3 separate regions of the Homo sapiens genome follow, and regions 1 and 3 are each linked to region 2. Evidence: promoter capture Hi-C in 16 types of primary human blood cells and fetal thymus (Javierre and others, 2016). All regions are on one chromosome and are shown on one strand. The core of a region is centred on a gene start or on the middle of the fragment in contact, and the rest is flanking DNA. Distances in the headings are between cores, read along the strand shown. Region 1 has its middle 26 kb from the start of SNORA88. Region 2 holds the start of IMMP1L (inner mitochondrial membrane peptidase subunit 1). Region 3 has its middle 14 kb from the start of RCN1.

The links. Contacts are between HindIII fragments. The CHiCAGO score rates a contact against its expected background, and 5 or more counts as called.
Region 1: a fragment that was not itself captured here is called in contact with the fragment with the promoter of IMMP1L in region 2 in 2 of 17 cell types (fetal thymus and naive CD8 T cells); the score reaches 6.3 in fetal thymus.
Region 3: a contact is called between a fragment that was not itself captured here and the fragment with the promoter of IMMP1L in region 2, in 1 of 17 cell types (megakaryocytes). The highest score is 5.1, in megakaryocytes.

Annotation. Positions count from the first base shown.
Region 1 is chr11:32,167,464-32,171,389 of GRCh38, reverse strand. It overlaps the pseudogene THEM7P. Among named protein-coding and RNA genes, the nearest start is that of SNORA88, 26 kb to the right of the region's middle. The HindIII fragment of the contact is 4,148 bases long and covers 1-3,811 here.
Region 2 is chr11:31,506,699-31,510,941 of GRCh38, reverse strand. IMMP1L (inner mitochondrial membrane peptidase subunit 1) reads left to right here and starts at 1,320. Exons shown (of 6, transcript NM_001304274.2): 1 at 1,320-1,423. ELP4 (elongator acetyltransferase complex subunit 4) reads right to left here and starts at 1,175. Exons shown (of 10, transcript NM_019040.5): 1 at 935-1,175. The coding sequence starts at 1,157. RefSeq lists enhancers at 871-1,160, 293-1,182. The HindIII fragment of the contact is 1,748 bases long and covers 87-1,834 here.
Region 3 is chr11:32,075,346-32,079,735 of GRCh38, reverse strand. No RefSeq gene overlaps it. Among named protein-coding and RNA genes, the nearest start is that of RCN1, 14 kb to the left of the region's middle. The HindIII fragment of the contact is 9,478 bases long and covers 1-4,390 here.

The DNA.
Region 1 (3,926 bases), core at 488-2,987, 660 kb before region 2:
TCTTCAGGCTGAGCTGTGTTGAAATAGGCAGGCTTCTACAAAATGCATTCAATCTCATTTTCCTTTCATTGCATCAGATATTTAAAGAGCACCTACTGTGTTCTAGGACTTGGGTACATAATGGTGAGCAGAACCGACCCTGACCTTATGGATGTCCTGATTGTTAATTACAGTAATTGCTACAGATGATAAACTTGGGAAGAACATTCCATCTTTCAAATGAATGTGGTATTTTAAAGCCCTATGGAGCGGAAAGATACCAGGGAATACTGTAGTATTGAGAATGATTCTTTTTCAAAGTGCATTCCTTGCTTTTTTAGCCTCGGAGTCCCTGGTACACATGGTGCAGTCTTGTCCATAGAAAGAGCTTAAGAAAAAATTTATTTAAAAACCCTTTCATAGAAATTTAACAGCACAAATTTCCTTAAATCATGTTATTGGATCTTATTAGAAGATTTGCCAACCTCACATTTGACATGGCTTTGTAAGGTACTAACAGAATACTTGTACTTTGTTCCAAAAATCTTTCTGTAATTTTTAACTCTTAAGAGGTATCTGTGTCTTAACATCCCTGGATTATATTCAGGCTTTCAATGGAGCAGTCTGAGGATATCCCACCCAAGTTGGGAGGTTTGTTTTCTTAAAAGCGTTGTGCTAAGGAGATTTTTCTCTAGCCAAAGGAGTCTAGTAGTTATGACAGTTCTCTGGAGGGATTGAAATTAATTCCATGTGACATAGTTGAAGTTACTAGATATTTCAGCAATTCCCCCGTTGAATACCCACACATCAGGCAAGATAAAGTAACAAGTTTGGACATATTATGTTGATTGTGGTGGACATTTGTTGGGGCTTCTTCAATATCTACTCTTAGCTTCTCACACTAAGGGACCTTGAGTTTTTTTCTTTGGGAATTCTTCCCTCTCCATTTTCAGCCATACAGTTGGGTGGGATTAACCCCTCTTCAACTCCTGGGGTGGGCCTCAATTGGTCTAACCAGTTAGGAAAGCCAGCAACCACTTGCACTGATTGGTTCGGAGGTGGACATGTGACTCAGTTCTGGCCGATGGCAAAGAGTGAATACTAGGATTTGTGGAGAGGTAGCAGAAGGGGCACTTTCTCCTCTGCTGGGTGTGAGACCTGCCATGTTTGAAGACACTCTGAGATCTCAAGGTGATTTTCTGGAGCTGCAGGAGAGCACTGTGTGAAGCTGAGAGATTGTGTTGATGCAGAGGAACACAGAGTGGGAAGAGCATGAAATCAGATCGTTGGTGACTTCTAGTTATGTGGACTGCTAAAGCACTCACACCCTCTGCCTATTGTTTGAGTGAATTTGAATTGGTTTTTCTGTCACTTGCAACTGAAGAGTTCCTAACTGATAACTACTAATATCAAAGTGTCTAATACATTAAAATCAGTCACTCAGGCATCAGTAATGGAACAGAATTTAACCAAAGACAACAACTGTGAAAGCCTTTGGGTAGGGTAGCTCAGCTGTGGGAACATCAACAGACCCTTTTTACCCTTTAAAACAAAGCAGCTATAGCAGGAATCCAAGGATGGGGATGTGTTCAGGGTCGGGTAGTCTGAGATGCTGGCGATGCCTTGCAAAGCTCATGAATGTTCCACTCTCTTGAGTCTGTTCCATTGCTTGGCATAAAGCAGTTTATCTGTGTGTGTTAAAGGGTAGCCTAAGGAAATCTGCCTGGAAAAGTCCTGGGCCATCATCCCCTGGGTAAGGGAGGGGTCTGAATATCACTTTACATGGAGAGGTAATTAGAGATAATGGGAGCATCTTCGAGCTCCACTAACTGGAAGCCTCTAGACCTGTACTGTCCAATACAGTAGCCAGAAGCCACCAGTGGTGATGTGCTGTAAGTGTAAAATCTACCAGGGATATGTAAGACTTTGTACAAAACAAAAGAGTAAAATTTTCATTTACACATTGAAGTGAAAATATGTGGATATATTGGGTTAAATAAAATATATTATTCACATTAATTTCACCTGATTTTTTTTACTTTTATTAATGTGGCTACTAATGTAGAAAATATAACATTGCGTACATGACTCACGCTCTATTGGATAGTGCTCCTCTAGAAAATTGAGATCACATATTATTTGCTTTGCATGCTAATGGCCCAGAGACAGTTTTCCATGTTGTTTTTTGAGTGTATGAATCATGACTGACAGCTGCCGTTGAGAGCACCAGTCAGCAAGTACCCACAGCCTGTGCCTCTGCTGTGTGTGAGGGGCCTTTCTGTAGATGTTGTATCCTGATGTGGTGAGTCTAAGGAAGGCCACACCCTTGAGAATAAAAGACAATGTTTCCCCTGTACAGAGTGACACTCCTAGAGTTGAAGTCCAGGAAATAGGTGCCCTCAGACAAGAAAGAGGGCCTTGGAAGGGAGGCCTTGGTAGGTTGGAGAGGGGAGTCCCACCCATCTGTCCCTGGACTTCAACCCTTTGGATCTGGACAAAGAGGGTTCTAGAGATGGCTGAAGACACTTCTGGAGTGGGTATAGGGAATGTGGTTTCTGCTACAGAGGCAGGCTGGAAGCAGATAGGGAAAAGATCTTAGGCATGAGACACCACTGAGCCTCACAGTCTGGATTTGCCTCCGTGCGTGTTACTCTGTGTTAATGTCCTTAAGCAAAGTCTGATCTACCCGGTACGACCTGGCTTTGGTTGGGTGAGGACTTCTAGTCCAGGCTGGGTTGAGCCAAGGTGGTCACAGCAGCAGAGCTTAGTGAGACCAGCTGCCCTCAGTGCATGCTTGCTGCATGCACAGCCTCCAAAGATCAGGCTCTGATGCTATCAGGGTTGTTTTTCAATCAAATATTTCTGAGATATATCTGGCAGGACCACCCCAAACTGGTGGTGGAACCTAAAAGTGATCAGATGGTAAGGAAAGACATCCTCCAGCCTGGCTTTGCTCAGCCTGCCTTGCTGAATGACCTCCAGAACTTCCCTATACCCAGACTTCCACTGGCCCAAATCCATGAGTCCCTTCTAGGGTGTCTCCTGACCCCATCTCATCGGACAGAGGGGTGTCTTCTATACCATGTGTCTACTGTAATGATTGCATCTATTATTTGCTAATGCATTTGTTAATGCCCCTGTTTCCTATACAAGATTGTGTACTTCTGAAGGGGAGGGTTCATTATTCTTGGCCCTGACATAATGTCTGACAAAGAGCAGGCATTCAAGTAATATTTTTAAAAGGCAAGTAGATGGTTAAGGACATGAACTTGTATGGGTAAACTTATATAAACGCACAGCTATGCCTGGGTTTGAATTCTGGCCTTACTCCTTACTAGCTAGGGGACCTCTGTTACCCTTTCTCAGCCTCATTATACATGATCATGATGATGCCCACAGAGCTTTATTTCATTCATTCATTCATTCATTCAACAAATATTTATTGAGCACCTTCTATGTGCCAGGCTCTATGCTAGGCACTCGGATCAAAGGAAGTAGATAAAGTGCTTAGCACAGTGTGTGGCAGAGAGCAAACACATGTATACATCTACATCTACTTAGCTGCATTGATGGCCATATTGTCTTTATTGTGCTTGGCCCTCTGTTCAATTCTTATTGAAAAAATACTGCCTTACTCCCTCATTGGGATAGACTGAGGAGACCTTGTATGTAAACATATTTTCTTTGCCTAGACCTACAATAAGGATGATGGGTAGTTGAATTCAGGATTCTTTGACTTGGAATAGACTGTTGGTTGAGGATGGAATTGCAGTTGAGCACAAACAGGAGCTTTACTTTCTGGCTTATCTGAATCCATCTACATCTTAAAGCTTGGTGTAGACAAGTGACTTAGGTCATTGCATAATCTTGGGAGCTGTGAAATCAAGGAATTCCCTATATTTTGTCCCTGAAGGAAGAGTCAGATTTGAATCCTTTTGCTGGCTTCT
Region 2 (4,243 bases), core at 71-2,570:
AGACACATATCACACACTATGAAAAAAGTTATGTAAACACAGACGGGGTTTTAATGAAACAGCATTCAGAAATTAATCTAGAAGCTTTATTAACACAGCAAATCTGTCCTACCAACTTAATCTGGTCATTCCTTTGAATATAACAGTTATGAAACAAGCATATTCTTCAGCAGGCTTCTCATAAAAAATTCCAGAGATTTTAAAGGAAAGCCTAAGAACTAGACTTTTCTCGTTAAAATGTGAGTTAAATTTAAAGATGTCGTATGGAATGTAGCAGCAATCAATACTGGGAAGCAAAATGTATATAGAAAAAATAAAAAATATATACACAGATTTAACGCAGACACTATCTAAATATCAACGACAGGCTCAAAATACTTTATAAGGATTATGTGTCAACATAAGCCTTTAACATTCGCTCTCTTAAAGCCAAAATGTTTTAAGATTTAGAACCAGAGAACAGGCAGTCTGACGGTCAAAGAGGGGAAATCATTTTTTTCCAGCATCTTCTAATGAAGTCTGTCTCTCACAATTATAAAAACTTTTGCAGGCTGGTCTAAACCGTGAGCTGCCTGGAGAAAGCAGAAGGGAGGTATCCTGAATGAAAGCCAAACCATCTCCATAAATTAATGTCTTCCCTTGACTAGAAAGCATTTCAGGGTAAAAAGCATGTACGAATTCCTCCGTAATATGAAAAGGGGTTGGAGGGCAGGGAATGAAATAGAGAGCGAGGGCACTAAAACATGTTTAGTTAACAGCGCTCAGAAGTCTCCACACAACCCGTATTCCCCTCCATCTCAATCAGACCAGGCTATTCTCTCCTCCTCCGAAGGTTTAGGGGTCAGAAAGAGATGTGGGGTCAAAGTGGCTTCCCCGACAGGTCCCCTCCCTAAGTTTCCCCTCGGCTGAGCCCAGATCTCCGCTCTGAACCGACCTAAGAGCTGGTCTAGGGCTGGGAGCCCGGTTGATACCAGCAGCTGTCCATTCCGCACCGACGGTCGCGTGCCCGCAATGGACACCAGTCGAGGGCCGCTGTCGTTGGTCACGCTGGCTCTAGGACCCCTCCTCTGGAAACTGGTGACGTTGCTCTTGCTGGCTGTCGCCACTGCAGACCCAGTACTCGCGGCAACACTACCGCAGGTTGCCACTGCCGCCATCTTAGAGCCTCCAGTGTTAACCCAATAGGAACTCTGGGAACGCAAACACCCGTCCTATCAGAACCAGTGCCAAACTCCCGCCTCCTCGCCCCAACCGCGGCTCTCGTAACCAATAGGACTGAGACGTCAGTCCCGAGCCAACCAATCGGAAGGCGTATTGCTGAAAAGTGCGCCCTACGAAAGGACGGTCGACTTCGGCGGGGCCCAGGTGAGAAAGGCCCACCTGTGTCCTGGTTGAGGGTCTCCAGGGTTCTTTGGGGCCCGAGGTAGGTAATATCACGTAACGTTCTTCTCCTTTTGAGTGCCTTCATTCACATTGAGTTAAAGAAAAGGTTGGTGAAACAATAAACCCTTAGGGCTTATCAAGCAATTGCTAGCACCTTTCTCCGCTGTGTGTGAGGATAGACTTTTTTCCTGCTCATTTATCTTCTGATTTCTGATAGAAAATTCACTCCGCCTTCCCCACGATGTCTTTTTCTTAATTTTGTGTTATATGGAAAGGATGGGATCTCTTACCTTAATGAGTTGGTTGCTGAGCGTCTGGGCTTAGTTCGTTAGTGCCTAGTGGTAGGTGGTTTGGAATTAAACCTTAGAGCGAAAACTCTTGAACTTTGAGGCTATCTGGTTTTCCTGTGTCTGACAAACTATAGCTCTCTGACAAGTTCCGATAAGAAGCTTTTGTTAATTTTAATTAGTGTTTCTGGAAGTCTTGGATGTCTTTCCTAAGCGGTGTAAATGACAAGTGTTACTCTGACAACCTTGTTCACACATTTAATTGTCGTTTGCTGTTAAAGCAGCTGCAAATAACAGAAAATACTTAGGGTTTCTTTCCCCCAAAAAACTGCTAGGAAGAATTAGAAGTATACCTACTTTATTTTATGAACCCTGAATCGAGAGTTTATTACTAAAATACCAATTTTATGTGTGGAAAAAACATGTATTTTGAGTTGTATTTTTGTATTTAATTTTTTTTTCAAAACTGAGCAGGGACAGTGGGTAACTGATGTTTAAAGGCAATCATGATTGACAAATGTCTAAATTGAAAAGGACTCCCAAATCATTACCGCACTACTGAGTTATTGACTTTGACAGTGATCTGTGATACCTTTTAATTAGAGCCAAACCTCATTGAAATTCTTGCCATCGAATTGTTTTAAATCTCACTGACCTGTTGAAATTTTTGGGCTGATTCTGTTTGATAAATTGAAATTAGTATTGCTAAATAGTGACTGGAGTTTTTCATTTGGGGAGGATTTTTGTTTGTTTGCTTGTTTTTTAGAATCATGTTTAGGAAAAAACCCTGTTTCACAATATATCAACTGGAAAGCTTTGATCAAGGTTGCTTTCATATTGAATCTTTAAGTTACTCAATAAATAGCTGTTGAGTGATTACTGTCTGTTTGGACTTAATCTTGTCATTTTAGACCTATGGTAATAAAAATGGTCTCACCTGGAGGAGATAAAATTAACACATAGAAAACAACATAGTACTTAAAATGAACACATTAAATAGCATGTGCTAATTTTATCCTGTAGTAAATAAGCACTAGGAAGACCAAAAGAAAAAGTGACAAAGCAGTCCAATATCAGATAGAAACGTCTTGAATTTTTTTTTTCTTCAACTTTTGTTTTAGGTTCTGGGCTTCATGTGCAGGTTTGTTACATAGGTAAACGTGTGCTGTGGTGGTTTGCTGCACAGATCAACCCACCACCTCGGTATTAAGCCCAGCATCCATTAGCTATTCTTCCTGATGCTCTCTGTCCCCCCACCCCTACAAATATTTTTGATGCTGTGAACTTTTTGAAATGCTACATATAATTATTATTTTTTGACAGATGGCATTGTTTTGTGTACCTCATGATGCTATGAAGTGTATGTACATTCCGGAATCGTTAAATCTAGCTAATTAGCAATGCATTACCTCACATAGTTATCATTTTTGTGGTAAGAGTACATAACATCTACACTGTTTACATTTTTTTAAAGAATACAATATATGATTATTAACTATAGTCAGCTTGCTATAAATTCATGTTATATAATAGATTTCTTGAAATTTATTCCTCCTATCTAACTGATATTATGTATCTTTGACCAAATTCTCCCCATCCCCCCTGCCAACCATCCTGGCCTCTGGTAAACACCATTGTACTCTCTGTGCGATGAACTATTAGATTCCACCTATGAGTAAGATCATGTGATATTTGTCTTTCTGTGTCTGACTTATTTCACTTAACATAATGGTATAATTCGTTTTTATAGGCTTCTGTATTACATATTCCCTTGTTTCCTACTGTATTTACTTAACCCTTTAGATTTCCCAAGATGATGATAGTGGTGCTTTGTTTGCCTCATTACTAGAACTGAAGAATTATTTTCCAACTTTGACTTGGACTATAATTCTGGAAAGATGATCTATATACACACCAGAGTATTCATGAAATTAGGATATATATCTGGTATAACACTATCGTAGGATAAATATGCTTTTGTTTTTTTTTTCTGAGACGGAGTCTAGGTGTGTTCCCCGGGCTGGAGTGCAGTGGCGCGATCTCGGCTCACTGCAAGCTGTGCCTTCCTGGGTTCACACCATTCTCCTGCCTCAGCCTCCCGAGTAGCTGGGACTACAGGCGCCCGTCACCACGCCCTGCTGATTTTTTGTATTTTTAGTAGAGATGGGGTTTCACCGTGTTAGCCAGGATGGTCTCAGTCTCCTGACCTCGTGATCCGCCCACCTCGGCCTCCCAAAGTGCTGGAATTACAGGTGTGAGCCAGCGCGTCAGCCAAATATGGGTTTTTTGTTTGTTTGTTTTTTGTTTTCTTTTTAGACGGAGTCTCGCTCTGTTGCCAGGCTGGAGTGCAGTGGCATGATCTCGGCTTACTGCAACCTCCGCCTCCTGGGTTCAAATGATCCTCCTGCCTCAGCCTCCTGAGTAGTTGGGACTACAGGCATGCACCACCATGCCCAGCTAATTTATGTATTTTGAGTAGAGACAGGCTTTCACCATGTTGGCCAGGATGGTCTCAATCTCTTGACCTTGTGATCCACCCGCCTCGGCTTCCCAAAGTGTTGAGATTACAGGTG
Region 3 (4,390 bases), core at 1,754-4,253, 570 kb before region 2:
TGGATTTCCCTAGGAGAAAGCATTCCTCGGGCAGGGCGAGTGTGTGCAAGGACTGTGATAGAAGAAAGCAGGTGCAGACAAGGATGTGAAGACTGCTGCAGCTGCAGTGGAGAGAGTCCAGAGAAGCAGGAGTGAGATCACCTGGAGAGGTATAAGGTGGGGGTCACTAGACATGCCTCCCTAGCAGTGCCTACACCCTTCTTCCTTCCAACAGAATCCCTCTTTTGTTCAGGAATCCATACATCCACTAACACAGCTTTCTGCATCAGGGGATGCTAACTTCACTCTCAGTTCCAGGTAGTAATCCCTCTCCCAGTTTATTAGTCCATTTTCACCTGCTGATAAAGACATACCTGGGTCTGGGTAATTTATAAAGAAAAAGAGGTTTAATGGACTCACAGTTTCACGTGGCTGAGGAGGCCTCACAATCATGGTGGAAGAGGAAGGGACATCTTACATGGTGGCAGGCAAGAGAAGAGCTTGTGCAGGGGAACTCACTTTTATAAAACCATCGGATCTCATGAGATTTATTCACTATCATGAGAACAGCATGGGAAAGACCCACCCTCATGATTCAATTACCTCACACCAGGTCCTTGCCACGACGTGTGGGAATTGTGAGAGCTATAATTCAAGATAAGATTTGGGTGGGGACACAGCCAAACCATATCACGCAGTAATTGGTTTAGTTATAAGGGTGGGCCCCAATTCTGGCAAAAGAGCAATTAAGGAAAGTTTCACAGGGGACTTCCAAAAACAGCTTCCTCACTCTCAAGAACAAGCCACAAGAAAAGATGGCCCCATGTGTTCCCCTGAGTGTTGTGAAATCTGGATGTGAAGCCTGGGCCTGCTGCAGCTATCTTCCCCTCTCAGGAAGAAGCCAGCACTGAGGATGGCAGAATAGCGATGTGGAAAGAATCTTTCTCCCTGATAAAGGTTGGGTTGCTGAATCAATCTGCCCTAAAGGCCACCCTACCTCAGGACTTCTGTTCTATGAGATATTAGAATTCCTTATTGTTCAAGCAAGATTGAGTTTGAGTTCCTGTTACTTGCGTCAAAATGCTGTAAGAGGATAGACTGTGTTCCTGATATGGTTTGGCTGTGTCCTCACCCAAATCTCATCTTGAATTGTAGCTCCCATAATTCCCACATGTTGTGGGAGGGACCGGGTGGGAGATAATTGAATCACGGGAACCGTTTCTCCCATACTGTTCTTGTGGTAGTGAGTGAGTCTCACGAGATCTGATAGTTTTATAAGGGGAAACCCCTTTTGCTTGGCTCTCATTCTCTCTCTTGCCTGCTGCCATGTGAGATGTGCCTTTCGCCTTCCACCATGATTGTGAGGCCTCCCCAGCCATGTGGAACTGTAAGCCCATTAAACCTCTTTTTCCTTATAAGTTACCCAGTCTTGGGTATGTCTTTATCAGCAGTATGAAAACGGACTAATACAGTTTCCTATGTATATTGTAAGCTATGCTAAGGGTTTTTTTTTTTTTTTTTTTTTTGTTGTTGTTGTTGTTGTTGTTGTTGTTTTGCTTTTACCCCAAAACCAATGAAAAGTCATGAGAGAGTTTTAAACAGAGGACATAATTCACATTTGCACTCATGCCGCTGTGTGGAGAGCAGGTTCTAGGGGGCAAGAGTGGATGAAGGGAGACCTGTTAGCAGACCTTTCCTTCAGGAAGAGAATATGGAGTATCTGCCTTGGGCCCCACACTTGAGGTGAGAGGCTGCAAAATGAATATCTTTTTAATGAACCATCATTAAAATTCAATTTTGAGTGTCAGTTTTTAACAGTATCTTCTGGAGCCAATAAAAGATGCCAGTGCCAGTACAGAGTGGCTCCCTTTTAAGGGTCAGTACTTTGGATAAACTCTGCACTGACTTGAGTTGCTATGGGTCCCATTTTCTTCTAGGGATAGCCCCAGAGGGTGGCCTGGATAGAGGGTGATGGCAGTGGAGGTGGGGAAGAGTGGCAGAAACATTTTAGAAGTAATATTTTGGTGATAGAATGAATAGATTCAATCAGAGAGAGAGAGAGAGAGAGAGATGACCCTCAAGTTTCTGTGTAACTGGAGGCAGTGAAGGTGCCATTAGGTGAAATGAAGAAATGTGGAAGGGGCTTATTTTGGGGCAGGGGTTGATTCTGAGTTTAGTTGAACATGTTAATATACCTTTGTAATATTCAAGAAGAGGTTTCTAGAAGGTGGGATATGATACTCAGTTTCTAGAAGGTGGGATATGATACTCAGAGGACAGATTTGGGTTGGAGTGAATAATACTTTAGTCATGCCCATTTTAGGAATTAATTGAAATCATGGACCTCCATGTGAAAGGGCTTTGGGAGAGAAGAGGCTTGGGAGAGAAGAGGCTTGGAAGAGAAGAAACCTAGGACCAGGCCTGGAGGACTGGGCAGAGGTAGATGGGGCCTGCAAAGACCACTGAGAGGTTTTTGTCAGAGAGGTAGAAAGGGAACAGAAAAGTGGCTTGTTATGGGAGCAAGCGGTCAGAGTATTTCAAAAATCAGAAAATTTACTGAGGTGCTGATAATTGTTGAAGAGTCAAAGGAGAAGTGTGATAGTCTCCAAAGATGGCCCCAGGGAAGTATGCTTCCTGAAATTCATATCTTCGTGTAGTGCCCCCAACACTGAATGAATGGGGGTGGGGCCCGTTCAATCACTAGACTGAAGCAGAGGGGATGCTACGCGACTATCAAGGTCACAGAAATCCTTGCAACATCCATCTTGGTCTCTTGAAATACTTTCTCAGTGAGACGCCAGCCCCCATGTAAGAGGTCTCTTTACCCATAAACCCCCATGCTGTGAGGAAGCCCAAACTACCACGTGAAGGTACTCTATGGAAGGGGAAGGAGAGAGAGGGAGAGATCCCAGTCCCCAGTTGTTCCTGAGATCCAACCTGGATAGCAGCCATGTGAAGAAAGAAGCCATCTAGGATGTGAAGCCTTCAGATGACGCCAGCTCCTTAAGAGGCCCCAAGTGAGAACTGCTCAGCTGATTCCAGTCAATCCATGGAACTATGAGAGATACAGATAAATTCCCGCCTTAAGCTATTGAATTCTATAACTGGAATAAGATGGGAATTGATCAAATAAATATCTGTTTGATTTGAAAGAATGGAGGTCATTACTGTTTCTGGGTGTGACAGGAGCAGAAGCCAGATCTGACTGGGTTGAAGAGAGGGTGAAAGCTGAAGAAATTAAGAAAGCAAACGTGGTGGCTTTCTGGAGACTCCTTCAGCTATGGATGGGGAGGAGGAAAGTTGGTAGCTGGAAGAGGATGTGAGGATGAGGGACAGATTTTCTGAAAGTGGTCTCCATCATGTAAGTATGTTTAAAAGTACTGCCTATGAAGTACTCTTGATTTAAAAAAAAAAAAAAAGACAAATATGGGGGAATATGGGAGATAGAGACACAAGTTATCAGCACTTTAACAATGTGATCAGCTAAGTCAAGAGTGTGGGACACTCTATGTAACAAATGGCCCAAGAAATCAATGGCATTTAAAAAATATAAAGGCAGGGAGACTATTAGAGGACAAAAACAACTTAAGAGACAAAACAATGAGATACAGTATGAGAACCTTGTCTGGATCTTGATTTGAACAACCCAACTATAAAAAGACATCCTGGAGACAATTGGGAAAATAAAATATGGACTGAGAATTAGGTGATATTAAGGAATCACAGTTATTTAGCTGTGATAACGGCCTGGAGGTTATGTTTTATAAAATTGGCCCTTATCAATTAGAGACGCATAATGTGATGGCCCAATACACGGAATTTTCTTTAAAATATGGCCAGGTGCAGTGGCTTAAGCCTGTAATCCCAGCACTTTGGGAGGTGGAGGCAGGTGCATCACCTGAGGTCAGGAGTTCAAGACCAGCCTGGCCAATGTGGGAAATCCCATCTCTACTAAAAATACAAAAATTAGCTGGGTATGGTGGTGCATGCCTGTAATCCCAGCTTCTTGGGAGGCTGAGGCAGGAGAATCTTAGAGCCTGGGAGACAGAGTTTGCAGTGAGCCAAGATTGTGCCACTGCACTCCCGCCTGTGCAACACAGCAAAAACTCTGTCTCCAGAATAAAATAAAATAAATAAAATATATACATTGATAAAATGGTGACAATTGTTGAGGCTTGCTGATGGGTAAGTAGGAGTTCATTATACTAGTTTCTCTGTTTTTGAATGTATTTGAAAATTTTTATAATTTATAAGAAAAAGTTTAAAATTTTTTATAAGTTTTTAAAACTATATTGAAACACATTATTATTATTATTATTATTATTATTATTATTATTATCATTATTATTAAAAAAGGATTTAAAGGTAACAATCAGGTTAACATTCACTTGTGGTAGCCAGGTATATAGTA